Regions from separate parts of the Homo sapiens genome. Here region 2 is linked to region 1. Evidence: promoter capture Hi-C in human tissues and cell types (Jung and others, 2019). All regions are on one chromosome and are shown on one strand. The core of a region is centred on a gene start or on the middle of the fragment in contact, and the rest is flanking DNA. Distances in the headings are between cores, read along the strand shown. Region 1 holds the start of RGS13 (regulator of G protein signaling 13). Region 2 has its middle 34 kb from the start of RGS13.

Region 1 (4,094 bases), core at 1-2,500:
TCATGGCTTATTATAAAAATTTCTTTACTGTTTTAATTTGTAATTTTCCATTACTTTTTATTTAAATAATCTATATTTATCTTAATATTGTGTATTAATTTGCTTTCCTTTTTTGTTTTTCAATACCCTCTTGGTAAAACTAGTGTGTACTTTTACAATCGAAACATAGAGTGTTTAGAACAAGTTTAGGTCTCCACGATGATTTTGCCTCCACTGTTTTCTCCTGATAATTATTTGAAAGAAATACATTTCACCGATAGAATCTAATTCTCAGAGTGATTATAAATGCATTGGTAATGGATTGAGTTGTATTAGTAGTATGCCAGAATTAGATTTGTTTCCTCCATTATTTAAATGAAATCTTAAAGTATTATGAAAATAAATAAATTTTCTTAAAGCAATTCTGTCTGTTTACATATATCTGCATTTAAATATGTTTCTTTATTTTATGATATAGCATGTTACATAAAATTTAGTAAAATTTGGAGCAATTTATATTTTAGTGAGCTTTTGTTGACCACAGCACACAAATTTCTTGTCCTTTAAAAAATTCAAGAAATTTGTGCATAGTTGTGCTTAAGCATAACATAAAAGAATAAAAAAATTCTACAAAATCAAGATTAACAATGTTTCAGATAAACCTTATAATAATCCACACCTGGCTTCAGTACAGTTAACAAAGGATGGAACTAATAATTTGGTAATGCATGATTTTTGAAACAAATAATTCAGCTATGTCTGATTTTATAATATGTTTTTATCTAAACATATAAAATGAAAAACATTTAAAATGAAAATATACACAAAAACATAAAATGAAATAATATACTTTAAAACTGTAGCATTTCCTCTGTTGCCCAACTTAGAAGATTTATTTATATAAGGAGTGACTCTAAGTTTTGTTTTAAATATAGAAAGCCAGGCAAAAGAATATGTGTTTGTTAGTTTGTCTTTTTTTCTTAGAAAAACCTCTGTTAACACTCCCAGAAGTTCTACCATTGAAATCAGCATCTGCTAGTGATTTATAGCAAGCCAATAGTCTTGTATTTATCAACTATTTTATAGAATCTCATACTTACAAATATATCCTGTCGAGCAGTCCACCATGCTAAATTTGATCTCCTCTTTGTTATGATCCGTTTGAAATCAGGTTCTGAAATTTTGTGAGACACCCAGCATTTTATTTTTCCCAGAGTAAAAGGATTTTACTGTCTCTATAATTACCTTCGATGGCACTCTGGCCTCAGTATGAATGTTCTGTTTTTACACACACGTATCTATGCAAAGAGAGGTTTTGTTGAATATGGAAAGTAGTGCTGTAGGACTCCAGTGCATTACTGATAAAGAGGTTTTATCTAACATTATCAGACCATCTGAAGTGATCAGATGATTGGAAGCAGCAGCTTCATGAAATCTTCAAAGTAATACTCAAATCTTTTTCTCCAAAATAATTTTTCTAGTTTTAGAAAATGTATAGTCTAAAGTAAAATTCCCTTTTAAAAAAGACAGAGAACTGAGTACAAACACATAGGACATCACTGCAAACACATGTTAGCAAATGGTTGAGAACTATTAAAATCAATCTGTTTGTAATAGATTACTAGGGACTTTTAACAACTGAAGGATCTAAAAAAGTATCTTTTCTAGTTATACCTCTCTAGTTCCTTCAACTGGTCCTCTACAGCAGTTCTGGACTCCGTTGTTCTACAGTTTGTTAACATGCCTTCAAAATCTGAATTGAACACAGTGCTTAAGATAAGGTCTAATGAATACAGAATATGGTAAGATTGTGAATGCCCTTGTCCTGGATTTACTCCAATTGTGTGTGTGTGTGGGGAGGGGTGGGGGAGTTGGGGGGTTTGGGGGGAGAGAGAGAGAGAGAAACAGAGAGGTAGGAGTAAAGAAATGCTAGAATAAAACAGCAGTAAAGAAGATCAAAATGTGGTTGATGGAGTGTTTCTTAAAATATTTAGGGGCCCAATGAGATAGAAGATTAACCTTACTTGTCTTTTATAATTTTGAGATTCAAACCCAAGAAAATTGAATTTCTCAAACCTGAGAGATAAGTTTGGGACTAGAAAAGGAAAGGAAACTTTGGAAAGTCAGAAGCTGCGTAGATGTAGCAATAATGTAGGAAGTGAAGGGCAGGTTAGCCTCAGCTTGGGAGGATCTGGGTTGTTTGTGGATAGCACTCATTTTCTCTGGGTGCTAGGTGTGCGATTTCCTCCCCACTCAGGACATTTTGGATGCTGGATCTCTTCAGGAAATCTTCAGTGTCATAGTCAAGACTTTTCCTCACCCCAAATAATTCATTTTTTTGGGATTTGGAATGTTTGCTCTTTCTCATGGTGTGGATGCAAGGAGCTGGCAGGAAGATTCTGGAAGTAACACCCTGTGCGAGTGTCAGTTTCAAAGCTTGTTTAATGGAGTCAAACATGAGAATCTCCCTACAGAGTAAAACTTAAGTATCGACAGGGACTGAAAAACAAATAAATCATAGAGTGAAGAGTAACAGCACGAGTAGGTGGAAATTCCTGGAGGAATTCAAGAGCAATGTGTAGATATTTGTGGCAGATTTCTAAACATGGTTTTGTTTCTCTGAAAAAGTGTAGTTCAAGTTCAGTTTATGAAATCATAGCAATATAATGCTTTGTACGGCACATAGGTGGATCAGACTAATTCAGAGCTGTCAGGTTAGGGCAGGTAACAGGATTATGCTTTCGTTGGTGCAGCTTGGGAATGCCCTTTCCATTGAAAGGCTGTCCTTCTGATGAACTGATCTGCTTACTCTAGAGCACTTTTACTATATTTCAATTTCAGCCAATGTAAGTCCAAAGTAACACAAGTTCAAATGTGCACAATTAAAAATCTTTAATATTTTTATGTTGAAAGTTCAAAATGAACTTTACAAGAGCAGAAAAATGAAGTATTAGAAATTATAAATTCAGAATTTGCCATTTATGTCTTCTACAAAAAGTGGAGAAATATAATTACTGGTTAATGTTCGTGATGACAGCTTAAGAAATAAGCCTACTATTTTCAGTGCATCCTATTTATACTATATAGTGTTTGCCATTTGTTCAGAGGGTGGCTCTTTTCAATATATTCTAGAAGCAAGATAAACTCTTGGACACTGGGGTGAATTGTCTGGTGAAATGTATCCAGTAGGCAGTGGTTTGTGCCAGTGTTTGGAAGAAGACTGGCTTCTGCTCCTGCTTTCCATGGACGCTGATCTGTCCCTCTTAGCCTTTCAGGTCTGTCCTCTCTGCCTTCATTTTCTTCCAAGCTTCTTTGCAGCGCATTCTCAGTCTGTCTTCATACACTCATTGTCCGCATCTTGGAGTGGACGACTCAGAGACTTGACCAGTCTCCCGTCCCCTCTGGTTTGCTGCCAATTAGAAACAATCTAACTTTGGTTTCTGACTTGTGTGAACCCAAAATATACCGACAACAAAAATTAGGAAGAGATTACTGAGCATTGAACACTATTGTTAGCATAAAATAAACCTCAGTAGCAATTAAAGTTAGTTACCAATTCTGTGTGCATTTATTCAGATGATTTGCTTTAAAGATGTCTTTAATTATAATCATGGTCCTGTTATGCTATAAAGTTTAGTCACTAACTCCCAATCATTCTTAGTTCCCTTTTGGTAGCTGCTTTAAATCCATTCTCTTGGCCCTTCCAGAAAGTCGGCAGTGCTCTCAGGTTTCAGATCTCCAGCATGTAATTGAAAAAACCAGTGGTCCTACTTGGTTTCTATTTTCTTCTGAGCACTTGGTGGATTGTCTTGTCCTTCCTGACTAAATTCTGGGGAATTCATTCAAATCTTATTGTTTCCACCAGTGTATTTGGGGTAACATTAACATAGGAAAGTGTTCTTTTCCCGGAAAAAAAAAAGGAGACACTCCACAGTTGTTTAATTTGCACTGAGATGAGTCTATTAGCTCTTTTGTACTTTCACATTGTTTGATCTGTGAAATTCTCTAAGGATGGGGTTAAGGGCACGTCCCTTTGAAGAGGATTTGCACTGGCTCTGTCAGGCAGCCCAGGCACTTCTCTAACACAAGACTGCTTTGTTATTTTCTTAGCTTGG
Region 2 (4,094 bases), core at 1,023-3,522, 34 kb before region 1:
TGTACAAATCTCTATCACTATCTTATTTTGGAGAAGGTAAGATTTTATTTCTACACAGGGACAATGGAGGCTTATCTTGCACATTTCCAGAGTCTGGAAGTATATATAAAAAATTTTTTTAAAATCATAAATATATTCAGGTTCTGATCTTGGAAGTCAAAGAATATGATTTTAACTCAAAAATATTAAAGTACTAAGGATAAAACAAATATGTCAAAATGCATTAATATGAATATAGGCATGTAGCCATTTGATAACAATCATTTAAAATTGTTTTAATGAAATAAAATATTTAATAATTTAAAAAAAATCCCAAGGAAAATTAGCAATATTTAGAATATTATTAAGTTAAAATAATCTGAAACTATTTTAACTATTTGTAAAATGAAACACATACTTCCATACAGTATTCTTGGACAGACAGCACTTACGTGCAGATACAATTTAAGTTTAACTTCTCTGTTTCTAAGTCAAATACTTCAGAAGAACTCTTATAATTAGGGGTAAATGCAAAATATAATAAATAGATCATTATTAAACTCCTCATGAAAACTTCAATTTTTGGAGAAATTACTCTTGAAAATGAGTCCAAGTTACAGAAAAGAAAATGATGAACACGTTAGTAATGGGATGTAACAAAACAGGGATAGCACGTGGCTTACTCAATCATCTCATCCTACTTTATTTTATAGATGAGGAAGCTGAAGCCTACTGGTCCTAAAGGTACAAGAACATCAGGTGAATGAACAGATGCTAATCTAATTGCTTTGTACCTCAATCCAAAGCTTTTTGTTTCATGACACCACATGGCATCTTCTTTGTTCACCATGATGTGGAGGTGCTGAGGGAGCAGGACAGAAAGCCTGTATTTAGGAGGTAAAATCAGAATATTAAGCAAAACTGAAAACTCTAGACTTACTCTGTTTTGGAGTACAAATATCCATGTATTCAAGGGGAAAAATAAGTAGTAAAGAATGCTAATTATTCTGATATCATTTACTAGTTATGTCCGTATTAGGCTGATTTTGTATAATTTGAATGAGAAAGACCCATGGTGTTCTGAAAGTGCTTGAAGCATGTGTATTGTGGCCATGCATGTTGTATTAGTTAGTTTTCATGCTGCTGATAAAGACATATCTGAGACTGGGCAATTTACAAGAGAAATAGGTTTATTGGACTTACAGTTCCACGTGGCTGGGGAGGCCTTACAATCATGGTGGAAGGTGAAAGGCACGTCTCACATGGTGGCAGCAAGAGAGAGAATGAGAGCCAAGCAAAACAGGTTTCCCTGTATCAAACCATCAGATCTCATGAGACTTACTCACTACCATGAGAACAGTATGGGGGAACCCGCCCCCATGATTCACTTATCTCCCACCAGGTACCTCCCACAACATATGAGAATTATGGGAGTACAATTCAAGATGAGATTTGGGTGGGGACACAGAGCCAAACCATATGTGTAACATTTCCTACTTGCCCATATATTTATGTGTGTGTGTGTGTGTGTGTGTGTGTGTGTGTGTGTATAGATAGATAGATAGATACTCATTCACTGATGGAGTGAGATGAGGAGAATCTGAAATGTGGAAATACTTTTTTTTCTGCCTATAGTGGCTAGAAATCATCAAGTTTAGATATCTAGGACTTCAACCTGTATTTTTATACTGGTATTTTTAAGAGAAAATAAATAAAATCAAGTGGCTTAGATAAAATTGGACTACTGTGGTAACACCTTCCACAACTAACAACAGTTCACCTTAATCAATCATATACTTTTTAATGAAAATATTCTCTTTTACAGCTGATTCTCTATCTTGGAAATGAATCCCCCAATATTTATTGTGTGGAATATCACAAATAAAATTTCTCATATTTAGATCAATAATAATGGTAGTTTACTTTCAATATGGACAATTTGCCTATAATAATCCTTTTGCTTCTTAGTAGGAATTCTAGTTAATACTCATTTTCATATCATGTAGTTTGTAACCATTTCAAATTAGTAATGACATTTCAGTTGAATTTGAGAGCCAAGAAACATTTTTCATAGTAGAACTAAATACCTTCAACAAAAATTTTCTATATTTAATTCTTTGGAAAAATAATCTTAAATATTTTAGGTATTTTATTTTTCATCAAAAGTATAGAATATTTATCCATTTGTACAGAACATTTATCCTGTGCTATGTGCTGAATAAAGAAAATGAAAAGGATGTGAGTTTTTTCCTCTAAAATATTCTGACAAGTGCTAAGAATCTGCTATGATAATGATGTGAAAAGCTGTCTTTCTGCAATTGATAGAAATATTAAATGGAAGTCAATTAAAATTTAGAAGTTCAGCTTTTAGAAATTATTTTGAAAGAAAATTTGATAAGCACATTTATTCACATATTCATTCAACTCACCTTCCTGACTTAGGAAAAGAAAACCAAGAACTTTTTTGGTTGGAAAAGGAATTAGAAATTGTTAAAAAAAATCAAGGAAAATTTAATATATTTGTTAATAATGAAAACAACCAGAGTTATCACTGCTTTATTGATGAGATAACCGAGCATTGCTTTAAAGCCTGCTCTCCCTTCAACTAGCGAACCATACTCACTAACGTATATATTTTCCTGTCCCTATTTGGCTTGCATTGTCACACTCTTTCTGATATCAACAATATTTAGTAGAACTGATCTTTTGTTTGTCCAGTCTTTCTATGCATTGGATAGAAGATTTGCTCAGTTGTTAAAATTCAGATCATAATGCTCTATTTTTATACATGTATTATCCTGAAATTTTACATTTTTTGAGCAATCCAGGAATTGCTTTTTAAAAGTTGGCAGTGCTGAGTTACAGAGTAAAGGAGATCTGACACCAGATTTATTCATTTCTCACTGATGATGAATTGACTGATTCATTTATTTACTCATTCACTCATTCATTTATCTATTTTTTTGAGTGTCATACTTTCGATGTCCTCTACCTAGCAGTGAGGATATGATGCAAAATAAGATATGGCTGTAGTCTTAAGAAATTTATATTCTTCTGTTACCTTCTGGCCTCCACAGCAGTGAACAATATTACTCAGTGCTCCAAGAATCTTAATGATACCCTATTTTCTCCCATCCATTATAAATCATACAGGTTCTAACACTTTATACATATTATCACTAAAGTTTAAATACAGTAAAGATACAAATACAAAGTTTAAATACAGTGAAGTTTAAATACTGTAAAGAGTATTAATATTGCCCCGGCTTCCAAGACGGCCAAATCAGAACCACTCCGGTCTACAGCTCCCAGTGAGATCGACGCAGAAGATGGGTGATTTCTGCATTTCCAACTGAGGTACCTGGTTCATCTCATTGGGACTGTCTGGACAGTGGGTGCAGCCCATGGAGGGTGAGCTGAAGCAGGGTGGGTTGTCACCTCACCTGGGAAGTGCAAGGGGTTGGGGGATTTCCCTTTCCTAGCCAGGGGAAGTTGTGAGTAACTGTACTGGAGGAATGGTACACTCCTTCCCAAATACTGTGCTTTTCCCACGGTCTTAGCAACTGGCAGACCAGGAGATACCCTCCCGTGCCTGGCTTGGCAGGTCCCATGCTCACGGAGCCTTGCTTGCTGCTAGTGCAGCGGTCTGAGATCAACCTGGGACTCTGGAGCTTGGCAAGGGGTGGGGCATTCACCATTGCTGAGGCTTGAGTAGACAGTTATATGCTCACAGTGTAAACAAAGCAGCAGGGAAGCTTGAACTGGGTGGATCCCAGTGCAGCTCAGCAAGGCTTACTGCCTCTATAGATTCCACCTCTGGGGGCAGGGCATAGCTGAACAAAAGGCAGTAGACAGCTTCTGCAGACTTAAACATCCTGCCTGACAGCTCTGAAGAGAGAAGTGGCTCTCCCAGCATGGCGTTCAAGCTCTGATAATGGACAGACTGCCTCCTCAAGTTGGTCCCTGCCCTCCGTGTAGCCTGACTGGGAGACACCGCCCAGTAGGTGCTGACAGACACCTCATACAGGCAGGTGCCCCTTTGGGACGAAGCTTCCAGAGGTAGGATCAGGCAGCAATATTTGCTGTTCTGCAGCCTCCGCTGGTGATGCCAAGGC

What was found. The method cuts DNA at HindIII sites, captures the fragments that hold promoters and counts their contacts. A contact is called where the count stands out against the background at its distance.
Region 2: a contact is called between a fragment that was not itself captured here and the fragment with the promoter of RGS13 in region 1, in 1 of the 25 tissues and cell types used here (adrenal gland).

What each region holds. Positions count from the first base shown.
Region 1 is chr1:192,633,303-192,637,396 of GRCh38, reverse strand. It overlaps RGS13 (regulator of G protein signaling 13), which reads right to left and starts at 1,250. Exons shown (of 7, transcript NM_002927.5): 1 at 1,080-1,250. It overlaps LOC107985241 (a long non-coding RNA gene), which reads right to left. Exons shown (of 2, transcript XR_001738348.2): 2 at 2,847-3,388. The HindIII fragment of the contact is 6,655 bases long and covers 1-2,851 here.
Region 2 is chr1:192,668,247-192,672,340 of GRCh38, reverse strand. No RefSeq gene overlaps it. Among named protein-coding and RNA genes, the nearest start is that of RGS13, 34 kb to the right of the region's middle. RefSeq lists an enhancer at 3,583-4,084. The HindIII fragment of the contact is 3,894 bases long and covers 326-4,094 here.